2 separate regions of the Homo sapiens genome follow, and region 1 is linked to region 2. The links are contacts of gene promoters, found by promoter capture Hi-C in blood cells and fetal thymus (Javierre and others, 2016). All regions are on one chromosome and are shown on one strand. The core of a region is centred on a gene start or on the middle of the fragment in contact, and the rest is flanking DNA. Distances in the headings are between cores, read along the strand shown.

Region 1 (4,200 bases), core at 209-2,708, 330 kb before region 2:
TTTGCTAGCCAAGTCTCTTCCCCCACCTCTCATAACCTGTTTTAGCAGAATCTAGCCCCCATTCTTTCTCTAGCCTCAAAATGGGTTCTTCTTGCCTACTGCCCAGATACAGCCAACTTATCAAGACAGGAGAATTGCAATAGCAAAGGAGTTTAATTCATGCAGAGCCAGCAGAATGGGAGACCAGAGTTTTATTACTCAAATCAGTCTCCTCAAAAATTTGGAGACTGGAATTTTTAAAATAATAATTTGGTGTTTAGGAGACCAGGGAATGGAGAGTGCTGATTAGCCAGGTCAAAGATTAAATTGTAGGGGGTCAAAGTGGTTTCTTCTGGCTGTCTGGTCAAAGTGGGTTCCTAAGTGGTATCACAGAACTGACTAAGCCAGATAACCAGTCTGGGTGGAACCAGCTAATGCATCAGAATGTGGGGTCTGAAAAATATCTCGAACGCCAATGTTAGGTTTTACAATAGTTATATTATCCTTAGGAGCAATTGGCGAGGTTCAGAATCTTGTGGCCTCTAGCTGCATGACTCCTAGCATGACAGTTTAGTATTCTGGGAGCCCAGGCACAAAAGAGTATGTATTCATTCATGCTAAGTGGAAGGAAGTGGTAGGAACCCTTTGGCCATTAAGAATTCCTTAAAATTTTAGTTTTCTTTTTATTTGCCTTCAAGGTTCCTACCACTTCCTTCCATGCTCTCGCCATGCTAAAACCCAATTTGTATGTCTTATCTCTCCTCACTGGGGCCTGTAACCCTTTCAAATTCATGTCACCTAATCATTTTACAACCTTAGATCTTGATGGACTCAAGAATTCCATAGATTATCTGGCTCTTTGTCCTGTTAGTAGAGTGACATTCCCTTTCTGTTTTCTATATTCTAAACAGAAGCAAAACTTTTACATTGATGTTTTACTGTTATTGGATTCTGCACTCCCTAATGACCTCAATCAAGGTGACCTGCTACCTAAAAATAAAACTCAGTAACCAATATTCTGAATGTATTCATACTTCTAATATCCTGTATCTTCATATTTTAGCTTTAAGCTATTCTAATATTAATTTCAGTTAAATTGTATATAAAAAACAAATAGCCTGGCTCTTACCTGCCTACACTGTTACTCTAGTCTAGGTATTTCTGGAGTAACAGTGTGAGCAGGTAAGAGCAGGTAGTATTCGTGGGCTGTGTACATAGGGAAGTTTCACTCTCATGGTATCTGTATAGTTCCATAGACACTGCCATTAGCTGTGTCTTCCTTCAAATCTCCACTGCACACAGTGTAACTGCCCAGTGGGGTTCTCCTTGCCCACTGTCCAGATGCAGCCAGGTTATCAAGATGGGGGAGGGAATTGCGGAAAAGAAAGAGTTTAATTTCTGAACAGGAGACTGGAGTTTTGTTACTCAAATCAGTGTCTCTGAAAATTCTGAGGCTATGGTTTCTCAAGGATAGTTTGGTGGGCAGGGAAATGGGTGCTGCTGATTGGTTGAGGATGCAATCCTAGGATTGTGGAAAACAGTCCCTGTGCACTGAGTCAGGTTCTGGGTGGGGCCACAGGGCCTGTTGAGTCAAGAGTATCTGGTTTGGATGGGGCCATCTGGTCATCAGAAATACAAAACCCTGAAAAGACATTTCAAAAGGCCAGTGTGTTCTATAACAATGATGTTATCTGCAGGAGTAATTAGGGATGCTGCAAATCTTGTGTATGGAATAATGGCTGGTAATCATTTATGCCTATATCTTAGCAGAATTTAGCCTCATCTCATCCTCCTAACCTGGTGGTCTTTCATTAGTTTTGCTATGGTGGTTTAGTTTTGGGGAGGGCTATTATCATTTGAACTATAAACTAAATTTCTCCCAAAGTTAGCCCAAGCCCAGGAATGACCAAGGGAAGTTTGGAAGTTAAGGGCAAGATGGGGGTTGATTAGATCAGATCTATTTCACTGTCATAGTTTTCTCACTGATACAATGTTTGCAAAGGCAATTTCAACAGCAGTTTCCTGACTTGTGGTCACCATCACATTGCCAAGAAGATCCTGCCTCTGCTCCAGCACAGCTCATCCGGGTTGACCATCTCTGCTGCCCGGGCTATCCTGCTGCAAACAGTGAGCGAGCCACAGGGCACCCATCTGTGCAATGTTCTGAAGAGGAATGACTGAGAATGGTTCACTCCATTTTGTGTTATGTGCTGAATGAGGAATCCCAAAGCAGGATTGCTGGATCCTGGTGTATTACAGAATTTCCAGTTTTCCCTTCAATCTTATTCCCCCATGGACATGTGGGGATCTAAGCTAAGGGAAGATTTAAGGAATAGTCTTTATGTTCTCTGAATCCCTAATCCCCCTGGGAAATATATCTTTTCACTGGTTCAAACTCTTCATGCTTGGCTCCCTCTTGCCTCAGGCTACGACTTCACAAAGCGGAGTGAAGTAGGCCATCCCATCAGCCCACCAGAAAAATCAAGTTATGTCTGTACTCCAGCAGTGTGCACAGCTTGAATCCCACACAGGGACACACAGCACAAATTAGAAGACTCCTTTGTCCCCAATGCAAATAGCCATCTGTCAAATCTGTTCACCAATTAACCAAATATGTCTGAACTCTTCACAGTAGGCTGTGCCTCCAGTTGCAATTTCCATATTGAAAATATGTTTTTCATTAGCAAAGGTGCTTTTCCCCCAGAGGAACTTAGAAAAATGCAAAGCAGCTTCAAACATTCACAGTGCAGTTGGAATTGTTGCATTTTAATCATACAAACTGACATTTATAGGTTCTTATCTTCGGGAGCAGTGAGATGGTGGAGGGCCATATGTATCCAATGTCAAGAACAGAAAAGGTCAAACAATTTAACTAAGAAATCATTTTTTTGGAAGTAATTTAATGAACCTGAAGAGAAAATAAAAGCATTTTACAACAACATATGTTATTTTTTATGGGTACAATGTTAAAAATGAAAACTAAAGAAACAACAGAGACACTTAAAAGTGAAAATGAGTGTGAGCTTCATAACGCGCATACTGTAACAGATCACAAAATTTCAAGTTCTCACACCTGATTGCTTTTATAGGTCATTAAAAAGAAAAGATGTAGCAATATGCATATTATCTCATGTCACTGAGATTGAGGAACAGAATTTAAGATCCTTTTAAAATGTCTCCTTTAAGTTTACAACTTAGCAATACAGAAAAGTTAATACTTGTTATTCATTTGATTATTCTCCCACCTCCTGTACATGCTGCACATTTTAATTGGCCCAGTTGCAGATATGCCTTCCTTCTCACCACCTCCCTTCCCATACCAGCATCTCTTCTCCTCTTCTACTTCAGATTCCTGCTGCCCTCCCACATGTACTTTTGAATAAGGCTTTTGAATGGCATGAGTTCTTTATACCTCAGTGTGCATTTTTGCCAGAGTCATCTCCCTCAGGGATACTTGGATTCTAAAGCTTTATTTCCAACTGGGTACTGAAAAGTCTTCTTTTAAATGAGTATCCAATATCAGCTGTCCTGGAGATACATGTAAACTTGATGCAAAACTTCCAATTCCAAAGCCTTGAAATCCAAAGCCCTCCTTATGATTTTTGTGCATTTCCAGGAGTTATTCTCCTGGTATTCCCCGCCAATGGCTCCTGAATCTGCATGTGTTGTCTCTGTCGTGCATTCACCTGGACTTAGAAGTCAGCATCATTTTTTTTTAGTTTAACAGGATTTGCTGAAGATGTGGAGTTACATTGAACAGTGCACGTCTCTCTACCATCTCACATGTTCCTTTCTACCTTTTTCCTTCTTTCAGCAGGAGTTGGGAAGGCTGCTGGAAGACAGCCAACTTTAGTAGCTGAGTAAAGACTAGAGTTCCAGCCATCTTCAAAGCACCACCAGGAGAGGAGTTGAGTGAGGAGAGGTACCAGTGGCAATGGCATGGCGGTGGTTCTTGGAAAAGGACTGTACCTCTGAAGCACTGTCAGCAGCAAAAAGGGAAGTGTTACTGCAGGAGGAAGGAGCAGCTACAATAGTCAATTCACCCAGCTCCCTAAGATGAGAGATTTGGAAGGATGAGATGAAGTCAGCCCACACTGGCACTGGTCACACATCTGTTTATTGGAAGAAGTGCACCTTCTCTCTTAGTGCAGGATTTTGGCATAGGTGCAAAGATAGCTTCACTGTTTTTATTTTTGAAGAACATGAATATTATAATTGCCT
Region 2 (4,214 bases), core at 1,621-4,120:
TCATTTGGAGATCTTATTCAGGAGGCAAAAGAGGAAACCTGGATTGTGAAATGTCAACAGTCATCTTGCACAGAAGAAAAGCAGAAACGTTTTACAGTTAACACTATTGACCCCAAGATTTCTGACCTGACAAAATTCCTGCACCAGCATTTTCTAATGCTATATTTTTTCCACCCAAAACAACTTATCTGCAATAAAATTATTTCATAAAACAAGACACAGGACAAAGATGTTCTCTGTTACTACCCAGGTATCTTGAACTGCATAAGAGAAAAAGGTGAATGGAGGAAGATTCACTATATTATTTTTCATGCTTTAATATCAAAAACCATAGCCAAGGCTTCTAAGAGCCTTTTCAAAGATTTTTATGGCCCTTCCTTCATAATTAATTTGGCAACCAACCCAGGAACCAGTACATAGCCCCATTAACATCTAGGGGAGGCCCCACTATCTACTGAAGCATATATTGATGCTGATACAAATAATCAGTGTCTTATGCAGCTTATGTACACCAATTATATGTCAGATTCTTGACATATACAGTTTTTAACCCACACGTGAGGTAACTGAAGGAAACTTAATGTCTAAAGTAGTTAAGAACTTTAATACCTTCTCAGGAAACTCTGTCTTTAGGTTTAGTTCTGCAGCTGAAAAAGGGAATATTTCTGGACCAAACATTTCTTTAAAATATCAAATGAGACGCTGGAAGCTATGTGAGAGTGGAGGGTTGGAGAAGGGAGAGGATCAGAAAAAATAACTATTGGATACTAGGCATAGTACTTAGGTAACAAAATGATCTGTACAACAAACGCCTGTCACAGGAGTTTACCTATATAACAAGCCTGTACCTATACTCCTGAACCTAAAATTAAAGTTTTAGAAGAATAAAAAAAAAAAAGAGAATCTTAATGCATTATATCAGAGTGTTCAAAAGGTCCCAGAGAAAAATGCAGTAATTATGGAAGATGTAACTTGTAAACATGAAAATTATGGAAGATATAAATTGTAAAACTATCAATACAAAATTTCACTATTTAATTCCAGGCACATTTTCTAGATTGGCTTTTACAATCTGAGAGAACTACTCTCACTAATTAAAAACTATTTATTAATTTAAATCCACATGCTTGACAACCCTGACTCTATCATCCCCAATTTTTAGTGAGACAGCTTCACTTATTAGAAATTTAGTCTTCATATTTTTGTAATTTAGGGAGATTAAAATATGAGCATACAAACTTTATAACAGCAATTTTCATTGCAAGATGTTTTTAATTGTTTAAAAAAACAAACAAAAACTTGCAGAAATGTTCCTATTCACTTGCTCTTCTCAGGATACTAGCACAAGTGATCAGGAAAGGAATAAGTCAATATTAATTATTACCAGGTCTCGCCAATTATTATTGGTGCCTATTGCAAGTAATCTTTTACACTTCTATGTATAAGTGTGTCTTTTCCAAAGGATGTTTCGAAGCACAGCTGGCTACAGAGATTAGCAGCTGAGGGCCCACTTATTCTCCAGTACCAACTCATAGCTCTCACCATCACAAATACACTACAAATCCTAACTTGGAATAAATCTGCTTTAAGAAAATGCTGGAGTAATGAACAAAGTTCAGTGCCATGAATCAGAAACCTAAGCATCAGAGAAGGAGTGGCTGGTCACAACTGTCATAGCCATGTGACTTGGGGCAATCACCGAGCCTTCTGGGTCTGTCTCCTCTTCTGCAAATGAAGGAATTAGGCCAGATGACCTAGGGTCCCTCCAGCCTGAAGTCAAAATGGAAGCAGGCAGCAATGTGTGCTATTTAACCCCCCTTACAGGTAGAACATTGTAGGTTAAAACGTGAAACAAATGAGTAGCCTAAAACAGACTCACATTCACTGTTCATTCAACTAAAAAGCTAAGCACCTGAAGGAAGGCACTACGTTCAGCTCATTTCTGAAACAATCCACTCACTAAGGTTAGTGTGAGCATATCTGTGTATATAGGTGTTGCCCACAGGACACCAAGTCCTATGTGTGAATTCACATCCCGGGGAGCTTTCACAACCACACAGCACACACTCAGCATCCGAAGAAAGACAAACAGCACTAAGAAAATTCAATTTTCATGATGCACACCAGGGAGGCTAAGCCTTTTTCAGTACCCTAATCTTTAAAATGGTGCATCTACCACCTCGATGCCACATTATGCAAATTTACTAAGAATTGTGAGTGAAGAGATTTCAGCCCAATTAAAAAAAGATAAGGTTTTTTTTAAACGTGTCAATTCCAAGAAGATGGCCCAAGAAATAAGCCGTAATTACTCTATCATTATATCAACTCTTTAATCACTTTTTTCCCCTTGCCTCCCAAAAAAAGAACTGAGGGGAAGTGGAATTTAAATAAAAAATGAATAGTCCCTCCAAGAAACCTCCATAGAAGAGGAGTATATCTTCTGACAGAACACATCTGTGTGCCTCTTAAAAAGGATATTCTAAATCTGGAGGGAGTTAGCTTAGATCCCCACCTTCCAGGCCCTGCCATCTGGAATTCTCAGACCCGTAATATCAAACTGTAAGGAAGCCGGGGCTGGATGAGTATCCCCACTCCCCTAACCCCACTCCAACATTCTATGTGCTACCACGCTCCCCTATTTCAACCCAACTGGTTGAACAGGAAACATTCCTAAGATGAGCAGGTAGCCGGTGGAGCTGAACCCAAGTCTCCCCAGCCCATGTCCACTGACACCCTGGTAAGTGGCACCTTCGCTCACCTTCTTCACAAGGTAGCCCTCTCTGATCCGCTTTGGTTCCATGCTGGCTGGACAGGCAGATGCAAAGGTCACTCTCAGGCAACTCCTCTCAGCAGCTGGGCCTCCTCTGCATGCTGAGGTGGCTGTGGGCCGCCTTTTCTACAGCAGGTCGCTTTCACAATTTCCCTTCTGCTGGCGGTCGCATGATCACATCCTCTTCCCCTCACTGGGTTGGAAGATCAGAATAAGGAACTGCAGAGTAAACCACCCATTCCTTGCTAATGCTGGAGACTTATTAAAACCACAGTTGGGTTGAATATTTACCTAAGGGAAATTCTTACTACCATACAGAAAATCCCTCTTTTAAAGAGAAAAAGAAGTGATGAAAGGAAGAGGAAGATGAACAAGAAAAACTTGTTGGTGAAAATTGTCCTGAGTAAGGATTATTCTTGAGATCCTGGAAATGCCCAATAAAAATGCCAAGAAATTCAGAACCATCTGGTTAGCATAACAAAGTTAACTACTAAATGAATGCCTACTTCTCTCTATGCCAAGCCCTGTATCAAGTGTTTCTCAGCCTACTTATTTTAAACTAAATTAGTCTGCACATCGGCCAGGCATGGTAGCTCACGCCTGTACTCCCAGCACTTTGGGAGGCCAAGGCAGATGGATCACCTGGGGTCAGGAGTTCAAGACCAGCCTGGCCAACATGGTGAAACCTTGTCTCTACTAAAAATACAAAAATTAGCCGGGCATGGTGGCGTGTGCCTGTAGTCCCAGCTACTCGGGAGGCTGAGGCAGCAGAATCACTTGAACCTGGGAGGCGGAGGTTGCAGTGAGCCGAGATTGGTCCACTGCACTCCAGCCTGGGCGACAGAGAAAGACTTCATCTCAAAACAAACAACAACAAAAATGAGTCCACACATCAAACCCATAGGGAAAGTATATTATTTTCCTTATCTTAGAGTAAGGAAACTCAGGCTCAGAGAAGAAAAGTTGTCTCAAGTTGACGCTGCAGGTCACAGGGGAAAGCAGAAGAACCAGGGAGGGATGTGCTAGGGTGCCACTGCCTCACATCAGGCATGAGAACAGGTGTTCCACGTTGAGTGCTGATCTCACAGTCAGCCTGTAAAAAGAAGTCCATCATCAAACAGGTTTTTGAGAAACTTTACAAAATAATCCCAGGTTGGCAACTCCTCTAAATGATGAACAAATTAAAGACCTTCGCCCCGCCAAAGTACTACAGTAAAGAATCCTATAATGGTGTTTTCCAAACTTACTTCGCCATAGCATTCTTTTTTGAACAATTTATGTTAACTTTTTTTGTCATAAATTGAATTAGATCTCCCAAAAAAGAAGTCCTAACCCTTAGCACTTCAGAATGCATCCTTATTTGGAAATAGGGTCATTGTAGATATAATTAGTTAAGATGAGGTCATACTGAAACAAGTGGGCCCTTAATCCAATGTGACTGGTG

What was found. Contacts are between HindIII fragments. The CHiCAGO score rates a contact against its expected background, and 5 or more counts as called.
Region 1: a fragment that was not itself captured here is called in contact with the fragment with the promoter of PLEK in region 2 in 1 of 17 cell types (neutrophils); the score reaches 6.3 in neutrophils.

The regions. Positions count from the first base shown.
Region 1 is chr2:68,692,502-68,696,701 of GRCh38, reverse strand. No RefSeq gene overlaps it. Among named protein-coding and RNA genes, the nearest start is that of ARHGAP25, 40 kb to the left of the region's middle. The HindIII fragment of the contact is 3,980 bases long and covers 1-3,448 here.
Region 2 is chr2:68,363,938-68,368,151 of GRCh38, reverse strand. PLEK (pleckstrin) reads right to left here and starts at 2,870. Exons shown (of 9, transcript NM_002664.3): 1 at 2,759-2,870. The coding sequence starts at 2,800. It overlaps LOC101927723 (a long non-coding RNA gene), which reads left to right and starts at 1,748. Exons shown (of 2, transcript NR_187652.1): 1 at 1,748-2,737. RefSeq lists an enhancer at 2,831-2,910. The HindIII fragment of the contact is 25,233 bases long and covers 1-4,214 here.